2 separate regions of the Homo sapiens genome follow, and region 1 is linked to region 2. The links are contacts of gene promoters, found by promoter capture Hi-C in human tissues and cell types (Jung and others, 2019). All regions are on one chromosome and are shown on one strand. Each heading gives the region's core, a stretch centred on a gene start or on the middle of the fragment in contact. The rest is flanking DNA. Distances are from core to core; before and after follow the strand shown. Region 1 holds the start of ZNF428 (zinc finger protein 428). Region 2 holds the start of PHLDB3 (pleckstrin homology like domain family B member 3).

Region 1 (5,545 bases), core at 2,504-5,003, 110 kb after region 2:
AGGTGGTTAGCTATGCGGAAGCTCTCCAAACCCAGTCCTCTTGGGTTTTTACGGAGGCTTTAAGACAGCAGCATTGGGCATGGACTTCTCTGAAAAGTGTCTTAAGACCAACAATCAAGAAGGTGGGGAAGATTAGAGTCTTGCCCTGGGGCAGGAAATGGAGGGCAGGAGGAGGTCAGAGAGATTCTGTTTCTTCAGACCTGCCCCAGGCCTAAGGTACACAACATTATAACAAGAGACTGTAACAAAGGCTGTAGGAGTTACCAGCCAGGAACTGTGGATGAAAACCAATATATTTATATATATAATACCACAAGGGGGGTCCAAAGTGGCAGTTAGGGACAGGGAGTACTTGTGTAGCAGTGACACACCAACCCATCTGGAAGTATTTTAATATTTAAACAATTGGTATGGCTATACTAGTTTGTGATTATCAGCCTTAGTTCTGTATCAATTGGCAAGATAGTGTCTAGGTTTGCCACACTCTAGCTGTGTAGCACCAAGCAAAGAACTTAACTTCTCTAGCCTGTTTCCTTCTCTGGAAGAAAGGGGCTTCCAGGCCTTAACTCACGTACTCCCCATAACTAGACTGGGAATTATCTCCTTTGTACAGATGAGGAAACAGACACAGAGGTGATAAGTGAGTAGCCCAAGGTCACCATCTGGTAAGTGGATGAACTAGGATTGGAAGCCAGACCTTTCATAAAATGATTTCTCAGCTCAAAAGGTTTTTCTGAAGATTCAGTAGGCTCACTGATAGAAATTGCTGGTGTGTGGCTGGTATTCCATCAAGAGTGGCCATTACTACTCCCACCCCTGCCCCTCTATAAACTCCAGATGTTCCAGACCTCTCATCTCTCCCTGTGCACACAAGGCCTTTTCACATCTGTGGGTCTTAGTACACCCACTGTTGCTGTCAAGAATGTCCTCCTCCTCCTTTTTTTTTTTTTTTTTGAGATGGAGTCTCACTTTGTTGCCCAGGCTGGAGTACAGTAGCGCGATCTCAGCTCACTGCAACCTCTACCCTGCATCAGCCTCCCTAGTAGCTGGGATTACAGGCAGCCACCACCACCATGCCCGGCTAATTTTTTGGTATTTTTAGTAGAGACAGGGTTTCATTATGTCAGCCAGGCTGGTCTCAAACTCCTGACCTCAGGTGATCCATTTACCTTGGCCTCCCAGAGTGCTGGGATTACAGGCAAGAGCCACCACGCCCAGCCCTCCTTCCCCCTTTTTGGCCTGGAGAACTCCTTTTCACCCTTCAAAGCCCACCACAAACATAAGAACCTCTATACTTCTTGCCCGCTGAAATACTGCCTCTGCCAGGAAGCCTTCTGTGACTTCTCTCTCTCCCTCTTCACCAACGGACCGCCCCCGCCCCCCACCAACCCCACCACACACACACACCACTACTGTCTTCCACTGTACTCCCTGACAGTAGAGAACCAAGCAGGGCCAGTTGATGCAGCCTCAGCTATATCTCTTACATGCCAAGGCCCATGCACTGGGGATACAATGGTGGAAAATACATGGTCCCTTCAAAGTCTGGATGTCAAGTTTAATGCTGGGGACTAAAGAGAAAAGCTTCAGATTGAAACCTGGAGGTGGCTGGGGCAAAGGACCATTGGCATCATTGGCAGGGCAACTTCCTAAAGAAAGCACCTAAATCTTGGCTTTTAAAGACAGATTTCATAATTGGCAGAGGAGAATTCTAATGATACCCTATTGCCTACAGGGCCCCATCTAATTTGGGAATTCTACTTTATACCAAGATAAGATTGCCAGATTTAGCAAATAAAAACAGAAGACATCCAATTAATTTTTTTGTTTGTTTTTGGGTTTTTGTTGCGGAGATGGTGTCTCACTATGTTGCGAAGGCTGCTGTCAAATTCCTGGCTCAAACAATCCTCCTGCCTTGGCCTCCCACTTCCCAAAGTGCTGGGATTACAGGCATGAGCTACCACACCTGGCCCTTATTTATTTATTTATTTAATTTTCTTTTTTGGGACGGAGTGTCACTCTGTCGCCCAGGTTGGAGCGCAGTAGCGCGATCTCGGCTCACTGCAACCTCTGCCTCCTGGGTTCAAGCGATTATCCTGCCCCAGCCTCCCAAGTAGCTGGGACTACAGGCGCGTGCCACCATGCCCGGCTTTTTTTTTTTTTTTTTTTTTTTTTTTGAGACGGAGTCTTGCTCTGTCGCCCAGGCTGGAGTGCAGTGGCACGATCTCGGCTCACTGCAAGCTCCGCCTCCTGGGTTCACGCCATTCTCCTGCCTCAGCCTTCCGAGTAGCTGGGACTACAGGCGCCTGCCACCACGCCCGACTATTTTTTGTATTTTTAGTAGAGATGGGGTTTCACCGTGTTAGCCAGGATGATCTCGATCTCCTGACCTCGTGATCCACCCGCCTCGGCCTCCCAAAGTGCTGGGATTACAGGCGTGAGCCACCGCGCCCAGCCTACTTATTTATATTTTTTAAGAGACAGGGTCTCGCTCAGTTGCCCAGGCTGGAGTGCAGTAGGGTGATCTGTAGGAAAGGGGCTTCCAGGCCTTAACTCATGTACTCCCCCATAACCAGGTTGGGAGGTTAGCTCACTGTAACCTCAAACTCCTGTGCTCAAGGTACCCTACTAGCCCCTAGGAGAGCAGCTGGGACTACAGGTATGCGCCACCATGCCAGGCTTAATTTTTACTTTTTTTTTTTTTTTTTTTTTTTGTAGAGACGGGGGTCTCACTATATTGCCCAGGCTGGTCTTGAACTCCTGGTCTCAAGCGATCCTCCTGCCTTAGCCTCCCAAAGTATTGGTATCACTGCAACTAGCCCAAAGAATTAATATAGCTATGTTCCATGTGATATTTGGGACATACTTTTCTAAAAGGTTGTATCTTTTGGATATAATTGTTTATCTGAAATTCAAATTTAACTAGACATTGTATATTTTATACGGCAACCACACACCTGGGACAATCAAGACATTCCCTGAAGTTACCAGGAGACAATGCCCATCAGCCTACACTTTTCCAAGCCCACGTCACACAAGGCCCCTTCCAGAGTATTCCAGACGTCAGGTAGGGCCATCCCTTGGTTCACAAGTCCCACTCCTACCACGCCTATGGCAGCCAAACTGAAAGGCAAACACAGTGCTGGAGACCCCACAATGCCCTGGGCCTATAGCAGTCAATTCCCAAGATGCCCCGCGTGAACACAATAGGCACCCGTTCCAATGCTCGAGCAAAGAGACCAGGGCAAAACCTTCCACTACGGGACAATAACGGCCAGTTCCCACAATTCGTTGTGGCAGTTCTTCCCAGGATGCCTTAGGCCTATAGCGACCACCTTCCCAGACTCCCCGTGTGGAAGCGCTCCAAGCCTCCAGGACGGTCAGCGGCAGGTGTGGGATAAAAGGAACCGGTCTCGACAAGGATCTGGGACACTCTTTCCCAGGATGCACCAGGCCTACGACTAGCGGACCGACTCCCACAGCGCTTCAAGGCGGAGCGCTCGGTTCTCCCAGGATGCCCCAGGGCGGCACAAACGCGTAGGGGGAGAAAAAGAAGCCCTCGGGTCACCACGGCCCCAGACCGCCGGCTCCCCGGTGACGGGAGTCGTCGCTCCCATCATGCAGCGGGGCCGTAGCGCCCGCTTCCCGGCATGCCTCGCGCACCCCTGCCCGGGACACTCACCGGCGCCGGCGGCCCCCGCTCCGGCTCTGCGGCGGCGGCTGCACGCCCAGCCTCTGCGCCTGCGTCGCAAGTAGGGTAGGACAGCGCGCAGGGGGCGTGAAGAGCCTAGGGCGCTTGCGCGGCGAGACGGACTAGTCCTGTAGCGCTGTGGGAAGAGGGGCTATGCGCGTCGGGCCGTCGACGAGACCCGCGCGGGGGGCGCCGTGCTTTGCCCCTCGCTGCCTGGGTTTACTTGGTACAGCCCGCGGCCCAAAGGAACAAGAAGCTGAAGGGTTCGCGCGTGCGTGTGCGGGGCAGGAACGCGCCTTACAAAACTGGGATGCGCTGGGGGTGGAGGGCGCTAGTTCGGACTGGATCCTGGGCCCGAGGCCTGCTTATTTGCATAATCCTAGCGCGGGACAATGAAAGGCCTCCCGCACTGGAAGGAGTGATTTGCATATTCCCCGGAGGGGCCTTACTCCAGAGCGCAGTGATTAGCATATGGCGGGGGCAACCTGAGCAAAGCGCATGCGCGCAGGGACTGCAGACTGACGCGAAGTGGGTAGCCTTGTCTTCGTAGGGGATCAGTTTGCATCCTGAGAGAGGGCACGAGGGCCAGGACCCCTCCCAACCAGGATAAAGGTTTATTGATCTCCTAGGTGTCAGGCCCCATGCTGGCGGATTCTGTGGTTTCTGCAGTGAACCATACTCCTGTACTCACGGCACCCCAGTCGAAGGAGATACGCACCTAATTAGACAACTACTACCCAGAAGGTCAGACCTGGAGTGAGGAACACAGGGGGCTGTGGGAGCCTAAGAGGCGCTTGCCCCGGCCTCTGGTTCTAGAAAGACTTCCAGGAGGTGGTGATCCTTAAGCCAAGTACGAATAGGAGCCAACTAGAATGGGAATGGGTCTGGCAGAATGAACTGCAAGCGCCAAGGCCCAGAGGCCAAAAAAAAAAAAAAAAAAATAGAAGCGCATGTTTTGATTGAGGAAGCAAGAGCAGCTTAGTATGCCTAGAACCTAACTGGAGACGGGAAATGGTTCTATAGACGATGTTAGAGTTCAACTATGGCTACATTCCAGTCTTCCTGTAAGTGACTTTGTCACATTCTGGCTTAAAACTCCCCCAAAGGGATCCCATTAGGAAAAAAAAAAAATCCAAAAATCTTTATCATGGCCTCAGGGCTATACACCTGGTCTGGCCGTGCTTATCTTTCTGACCCCACCTACTTCCTCCTCCCTCCATTTCTGTCCAGCTCCACCTTACCCCAAACTCTTTACCAGCTCGGGCCTCTGCTCTTGCCGTTCCCTCCGCCTGAAAATGCTTTTCCCTCTGACCTTTGAATACCTACTCTTGTGCTCACCATTCATATCTTGGTACAGATGTCAATCTGAGAGGCTTTTCCTGATCTCTCCATAATAGCACTTACACATTTGACTGGAGTTATGGATAAATCGGGATTGGCCATGAGTTGGTGGTGGTTGTAACTGGCATGAAGAGTACATGGGGCTGGGCGCGGTGGCTCACGCCCGTAATCCCAGCACTTTGGGAGGCCGAGGCTGGTGTATCACCTGAGGTCAGGAGCTTGAGACCAGCCTGGGCAACATGGTGAAACCCTGCCTCTATTAAAACTACAAAAATTAGCCAGGGGTTATGGGGGGTGCCTGTAATCCTTGCTACTTGGGAGGCTGAGGCACGAAGATCACTTGAACCCTGGAGGCAGAGGTTGCATTGAGTCGAGATTGAGCCACTGCACTCCAGCCTGGGCCACCCAGCGAGACTCTGGGTCTCGCCTGTAATCCCAGCACTTTGGGAGGCCGAGGCGGGCGGATCACGTCAGAAGATCGAGACCATCCTGGCCATCCTAGACCATTTCTAC
Region 2 (5,464 bases), core at 1,245-3,744:
GCCGCCATAGCTATCGGAGGCGTAGCCTCGGGCTGAAGTTGAGGGGGGCGTGGTTAAGTGGAGATGCCTCGCCCCCTGCAATCACTAAGTAGGTCTGGTCCCCACCCAACATCACCCTCTGCGGGTCTCAGTCCATCAGTCCACTTACCTAACACAACCACCACTCCCATAATCTGTCGCAGGCTCTTTTCTTTTTCTTTCTTATCTTTTTTTTTTTTTTGTCCTGAGATAGGGTCTCACTGGCTGGAGTGCAGTGGCGCGATTACGGCTCACTGCAGCATCGACCTCCCTCGCTCAAGCGATTCTTCTGCCTCATCCTCCTAGGTAGCTGTGACTACAGGCGCGCACCGCCACGCCAAGCTCTTTTTTTTTTTTTTTTTTTTTGGCAGAGAGGGGGCGATGCTATGTTGCCCAGGCTGGTCTCAAACTCCTAGGCTCAAGGGATTCTCCCACCTCGGCCTCCCAAAGTGCTACGATTACAGGCATAAGCCACCGCGCCCGGCCTCAGACCCCTGTATTTAAGGTCGGAGTGGGGGAGGGTGCAAGTCCCGTGACCACCCAACCACACGGACCACAGAGGCTTGCAGTACCGTATGGAGGGTGAGCAGGTGTAAAGCCGACTTATGAAAGGTGTTTCTTTTTCTCTATCAGGTCCTATTCTCTTGGCGTCACTTTCTTGTAGTGCCTGGATCTGTCTCTGTCTCTCCACCTGACCCCAGTCTCTCAGATTCGGTATCTGTCCACTAGATCTGTCCACTAGAATCACTAGATCTTTCTTCCTCGGAGTATGTCCCTCTCTCGAGGTTTTTGTCTATTTGTTTCTCTGAGCATCTCTGCCATTTATTTCTGGGTTTCCCTCTGTCTCGATTCCCCTCTCTCTGACTCTAGTCTCACTGTGTCTCTGTCTTTTTGGGGTCTTTGTCTCTCAGTCTCCATGTCTCTGGGTCTCTGTCTGGCTTCTTGATCTCTCTGCATCTCTTACTCGTTTGGTTCTCTCTGTTCTGTAGTCTCTCCTGTCTGTCTATCTGGTCTCTCTCTCTCTCTCTCTCTCTCTCTCTCTCTCTCATTTTTAGAGATAGGTTCTGCTTTGTCCCAGGCTGGGGTGCAGTGGCGCAGTCATAGTTCACCGCAGCCTACAACTCCTGGGCTCAAGCGATCCTCCTGCCTCAGCCTCCCGAGTAGCTGGGATTACAGGCACGCGGCACTGCGCTTGGACAATTTTTGTATTTTTTTTTTCTCTAGAGACAGGGATTTGCTATGTTGCCCAGACTTGTCTCGAACTCCTGGGCTTAAGCAATCCTCCCCTCGGCCTCCCCAAGTGCTGGGATTACAGGCGTGAGCCACCTATCTGGTTCCTCTATACTAGTCTCTCTGTCTCTGTCGCCCGTTTGGGTCTATCTCCGTTCTTGGGGCCTCCCCGTGGCTCTATCTGGTTTCTGTCTCTGTATCTGGTTTCTGTCTGTCTGTGCCTCTGCCTCTCTGGCTCCGTGTCCTGGTGTATCTCTCTCTCAGTAGTCTCTGCTATCACTCGGTCTCTCTCCCTGTCTCCGGGTCTCTGTCTTTCTGGTTTCCCTCTACCTGTCTACCTGTCTGGCCACCTGTTTGGGTCCCCGTCGGTCCAAGCCCCCCGCGCTGTCGCCCTCGGGCCCCTCACCGCGTCGCGGCTGCTCTCAGTGCTGCTGCCTTCTCCCACTTCTTCTTCCTCTGCCTGCTGCTCAGCTCCCCCGCGGCTCGAAGGTTCCGCCAGGACTTCGGATGCCTCCTGTTCCCGGGACTCCTCGGGATGGCCCTGGGGCTGGACCTCCACGTCGCATTCCGGGACCAGCGGCGGCGGGGTCCCCTCCTCGGGGCTGCTTCGCGTCCCCATGGCCGCTGGGACTCCTGCGGGGTGGGCGGGACCAGAAGCTCCGGGGGCGGGGCCTAGGACGGCTGAGCGCCGCTCGCGTCTGCTCCGGGGCGCGGAGACCCCCCCCCAAGGAGGCGGGGCCTAAGAGTTCAAAGGATGGAACTGAGCGTTACGGAGGCGTGTCCTGAAGTTTCCAGAGGCGGGGCTTGATGGCTCCAAGGCGACACGCCACCGGAGACGGGACCGGAATTTGAGTCCGGGTCGTAGCACGCCCCCTACTGACCTCTTCGACCCCGCCTCCCCTCCCTCATCTCTAGGTGTCAGGCCTTGTACCCTCCCAGCAGCCCCCTACAATCTCTTGGATTCGCTTAGAGCGACCCATCTTCTCCCTCCGAGACTCAGCAGTTCGGCTCCCGCCCCATCCTTCCCGGAGCCCCGTAGTCTTAGTCCCGACCCCACTGTGCAGGGCAACCGTGCCCACGCCGCCTCACCCAGGGATCCAGGAGTCGGGGCTCTCCTTCTCTGAACAAGCCAGGAGTCGGAGTCCTTGAGATTCCGAAGTCCAACTGCCACCTCCCCACAGCCTCGGCCCCCTCACGAGCTCAGGCTTCGGCGCGCTCCGCTCTGCGCGCTGGGCACGGCCGCTTCTGCCTATGAGACAGGTGGCAGGGGAAGAGGGAGGAGAGAGGCCGCCCGGTCCCCCTCCCCAGCAGCCCGGAAGTGGAGGGGGGACAACAGGTCCAACAGCTCCCGAGGGAGGAGGGAGCCACGGGCTTGCCCCACCCGTGGCCTCGGCATCCGGCCATCCCGGCCCCACCGGCCCCGGCCCGGCCCCACCCTCGTGGAACTCAGCATCGCGACCTCCCAGTCTCCCTCGAGCCCCTCATTCCTGCCCCCCTGGAGGAGTCTTGGCCACCTCTGTATGGGAGCCTCTCTAATGTCCAGACCTTGGGAGTTCAGAAAGGAAGGCAGGAATGGAGATGGGGACGTCTCCCCTCTAATGAGCCCTTCAGAAGGGCCCTGACCGGTTTGGGGAGCTGGACAAGGGGAAGGGGTGCCCTGAACTGAGTCAGACACCTGCCCAGAGACTGAGGGAAGTGTACCGCCACCCCCCCACAACTTTGCTATGGGGTGGAGGGCAGAGGTTAAAGGTCTCAGCCAGACCCTTTCCTCTCTGGGCGAAAACAGGAAAATGAAAACAGGAAAATAACTGGTATATGAAAAGGGATGATTAGAAGTCAAGAGCTGTGTGAAACACTTTATACCCAGTCATTTAATTTCACCCTCAAAGCTGTCCAGCGAGAAAGTGATTACTACCTCCATTTCTTTTTTTTTAGTAGAGACTGGGTTTCTCCAGGTTGCCCAGGCTGATCTTGAACTCCTGGGCTCAAACAACCTGCCTGCCTCAGCCTCCCAAAGTGTTGAGATTACAGGCGTGAGCCACCGCTCCTGGCCTACTATCTCCATTTTACACTTGGGGATACAAGCTGAGGAGGACAAATGCACCCAAGGTTGGCTGGGCACAGAGGCTCAGGCCTGTAATCCCAGCACTTTGGGAAGCCGAGGCAGGTGGATTGCTTGAGATCAGGAGTTCAAGGCCAGCCTGGGCAACATGGAGAAACCCCATCTCTACTAAAAATACAAAAATTATGCCAGGCGTGGTGGCACACACCTGTCATCTCAGCTACTCCAGAGGCTGAGGCAGGAGGATATCTCGAGCCCAGGAGGTCGAGGCTGCAGTGAGTCTTGAATGTGCCACTGCACTCCAGCCTGGGCGACAGAGTAAGACCCCATCTCAGAAAAAAAAAAAAAAATGTAGCCAACATCTACACATGTTGTAAGTGGTAAAATGCAGGCTTCATTCTCTCAAAAGTCCATGTTCTTAACCATTGCGTATACTGTCACTACAAGCCAGGAAGTACCCAAAAGATCATTCTAAATGATAGTAACTTTAATGGTGAACACTGATAGGCCATGTGCCAGGCACTCACACACATTGACTCATCAGAGCATCACAACACCCCATTATTATTCCTTCCATTTTAGAGATAAGAAAACTGAGGCCTAGAGAAGTGAAGTAACTTACCCCAGGGCTAAGTGGGAAGTGGCTCAAAAGCAAGCCGGTGTTCTAATCCAAGGTGATGAGAAGACCTGCCCCAGATAGCTGTGTTTGTTTTTGATCTTGTGAGTTAGAAATCTTGTGGGCTCCCGGGCTGGGCGCGGTGGCTCACACCTGTAATCCCAGCACTTTGGGAGGCCGAGGCTGGTGGATCACGAGGTCAGGAGATCAAGATCATATTGGCTAACATGGTCAAACCCTGTCTCTACTAAAAATATGAAAAAATTAGCCGGGCATGGTGGCACGCGCCTGTAGTCCCAGCTACTTGGGAAGCTGATGCAGGAGAATCGCTTGAACCCGGGAGGCAGAGGTTGCAGTGAGCCGAGATCGTGCCACTGCACTCCAGCCTGGGCAATGGAGGGAGACTCCATCTCAAAAAAAAAAAGAAAAGAAAAAGAAAACAAATCTTGCAGGCTCCCTGGCCTCTCCATAGGACCAGAACCCCACCCCTTTCGGCCCAGAAACCCAATTGGTTCCCCCAGAAAATAGGTAGAAGTCAGACTCACGTTAAAAAAAGTTTTATTTAGGGAGCTCCAGGGAATGCGGTGGGAAAGGAGAGGTGCAGTGTCATTGCCGCCCTCTCCTCCCACCTAGTGCATTAATAGTGGATGGGAGCATCTGACAGAAGTGAGATCAGGCAGTGGGTGTCTGCACCCCACAGCGCATGTTGGCTGGAACAGCAAAGTCTGAAAGGAAGAAATCAAGGTTAAAACTAAGGGGCCTAGGTAGAGTTCCAGGCCCCACTGGAGACCCAGAAATCCTAGGAACCTTTCCTCTTCAGGAAACTAGAGTTTTGGTCCTGAGCCCACTCCTTCCCTCAGACCCAGGAGTCCAGTACCCCAGCCCCTCCTCCCTCAGACCCAGGAGTCCAGACCCCCAGCCCCTCTTCCCTCAGACCCAGGAGCCCAGACCCCCAGCCCCTCCTCCCTCAGACCCAGGAGTCCAGTCCCCCAGCCCTTCCTTCCTCAGACCCAGGAGTCCAGTCCCCCAGCCCCTCCTCCCTCAGACCCAGGAGTCCAGTCCCCCAGCCCCTCCTCCCTCAGACTCAGGAGTTCAGACCCCCAGCCCCTCCTCCCTCAGACCCAGGAGTCCAGGCCCCCAGCCCCTCCTCCCTCAGACCCAGGAGCCCAGGTCCCCAGTCCCTCCTCCCTCAGACCCAGGAGTCCAGGCCCCCAGCTCCTCCTCCCCCAGTCCCTCCTCCCTCAGACCCAGGAGCCCAGGTCCCCAGTCCCTCCTCCCTCAGATCCAGGAGTCCAGGCCCCCAGTTCCTCCTCCCTCAGACCCAGGAGTCCAGGCCCCCAGTTCTTCCTCCCTCAGACCCAGGAGCCCAGGCCCCCAGCCCAGCCCCTCCTCCTTCAGACCCAGGAGTCCAGGCCCCCAGCTCCTCCTCCCTCAGACCCAGGACCCCAGGCCCCCAGCCCCTCCTCCCTCAGACTCAGGAGCCCAGGCCCCCAGCCCAGCCCCTACTCCCTCAGAGCCAGGAGTCCAGGCCCCCAGCC

The links. The method cuts DNA at HindIII sites, captures the fragments that hold promoters and counts their contacts. A contact is called where the count stands out against the background at its distance.
Region 1: a contact is called between the fragment with the promoter of ZNF428 here and the fragment with the promoter of PHLDB3 in region 2, in 1 of the 25 tissues and cell types used here (stomach).

The regions. Positions count from the first base shown.
Region 1 is chr19:43,615,876-43,621,420 of GRCh38, forward strand. It overlaps ZNF428 (zinc finger protein 428), which reads right to left and starts at 3,754. Exons shown (of 3, transcript NM_182498.4): 1 at 3,683-3,754. It overlaps LOC105372411 (a long non-coding RNA gene), which reads left to right and starts at 3,186. Exons shown (of 4, transcript XR_001753942.2): 1 at 3,186-3,757. RefSeq lists an enhancer at 3,113-3,763 and a silencer at 3,568-3,807. The HindIII fragment of the contact is 11,511 bases long and covers 1-5,545 here.
Region 2 is chr19:43,502,252-43,507,715 of GRCh38, forward strand. It overlaps PHLDB3 (pleckstrin homology like domain family B member 3), which reads right to left and starts at 2,495. Exons shown (of 16, transcript NM_198850.4): 1 at 2,338-2,495; 2 at 1,655-1,881; 3 at 1-32. The coding sequence starts at 1,867. ETHE1 (ETHE1 persulfide dioxygenase) reads right to left here. Exons shown (of 7, transcript NM_014297.5): 7 at 4,468-4,651. The coding sequence ends at 4,599. RefSeq lists an enhancer at 1,631-2,153 and silencers at 1,782-2,031, 2,632-2,691. The HindIII fragment of the contact is 32,375 bases long and covers 1-5,464 here.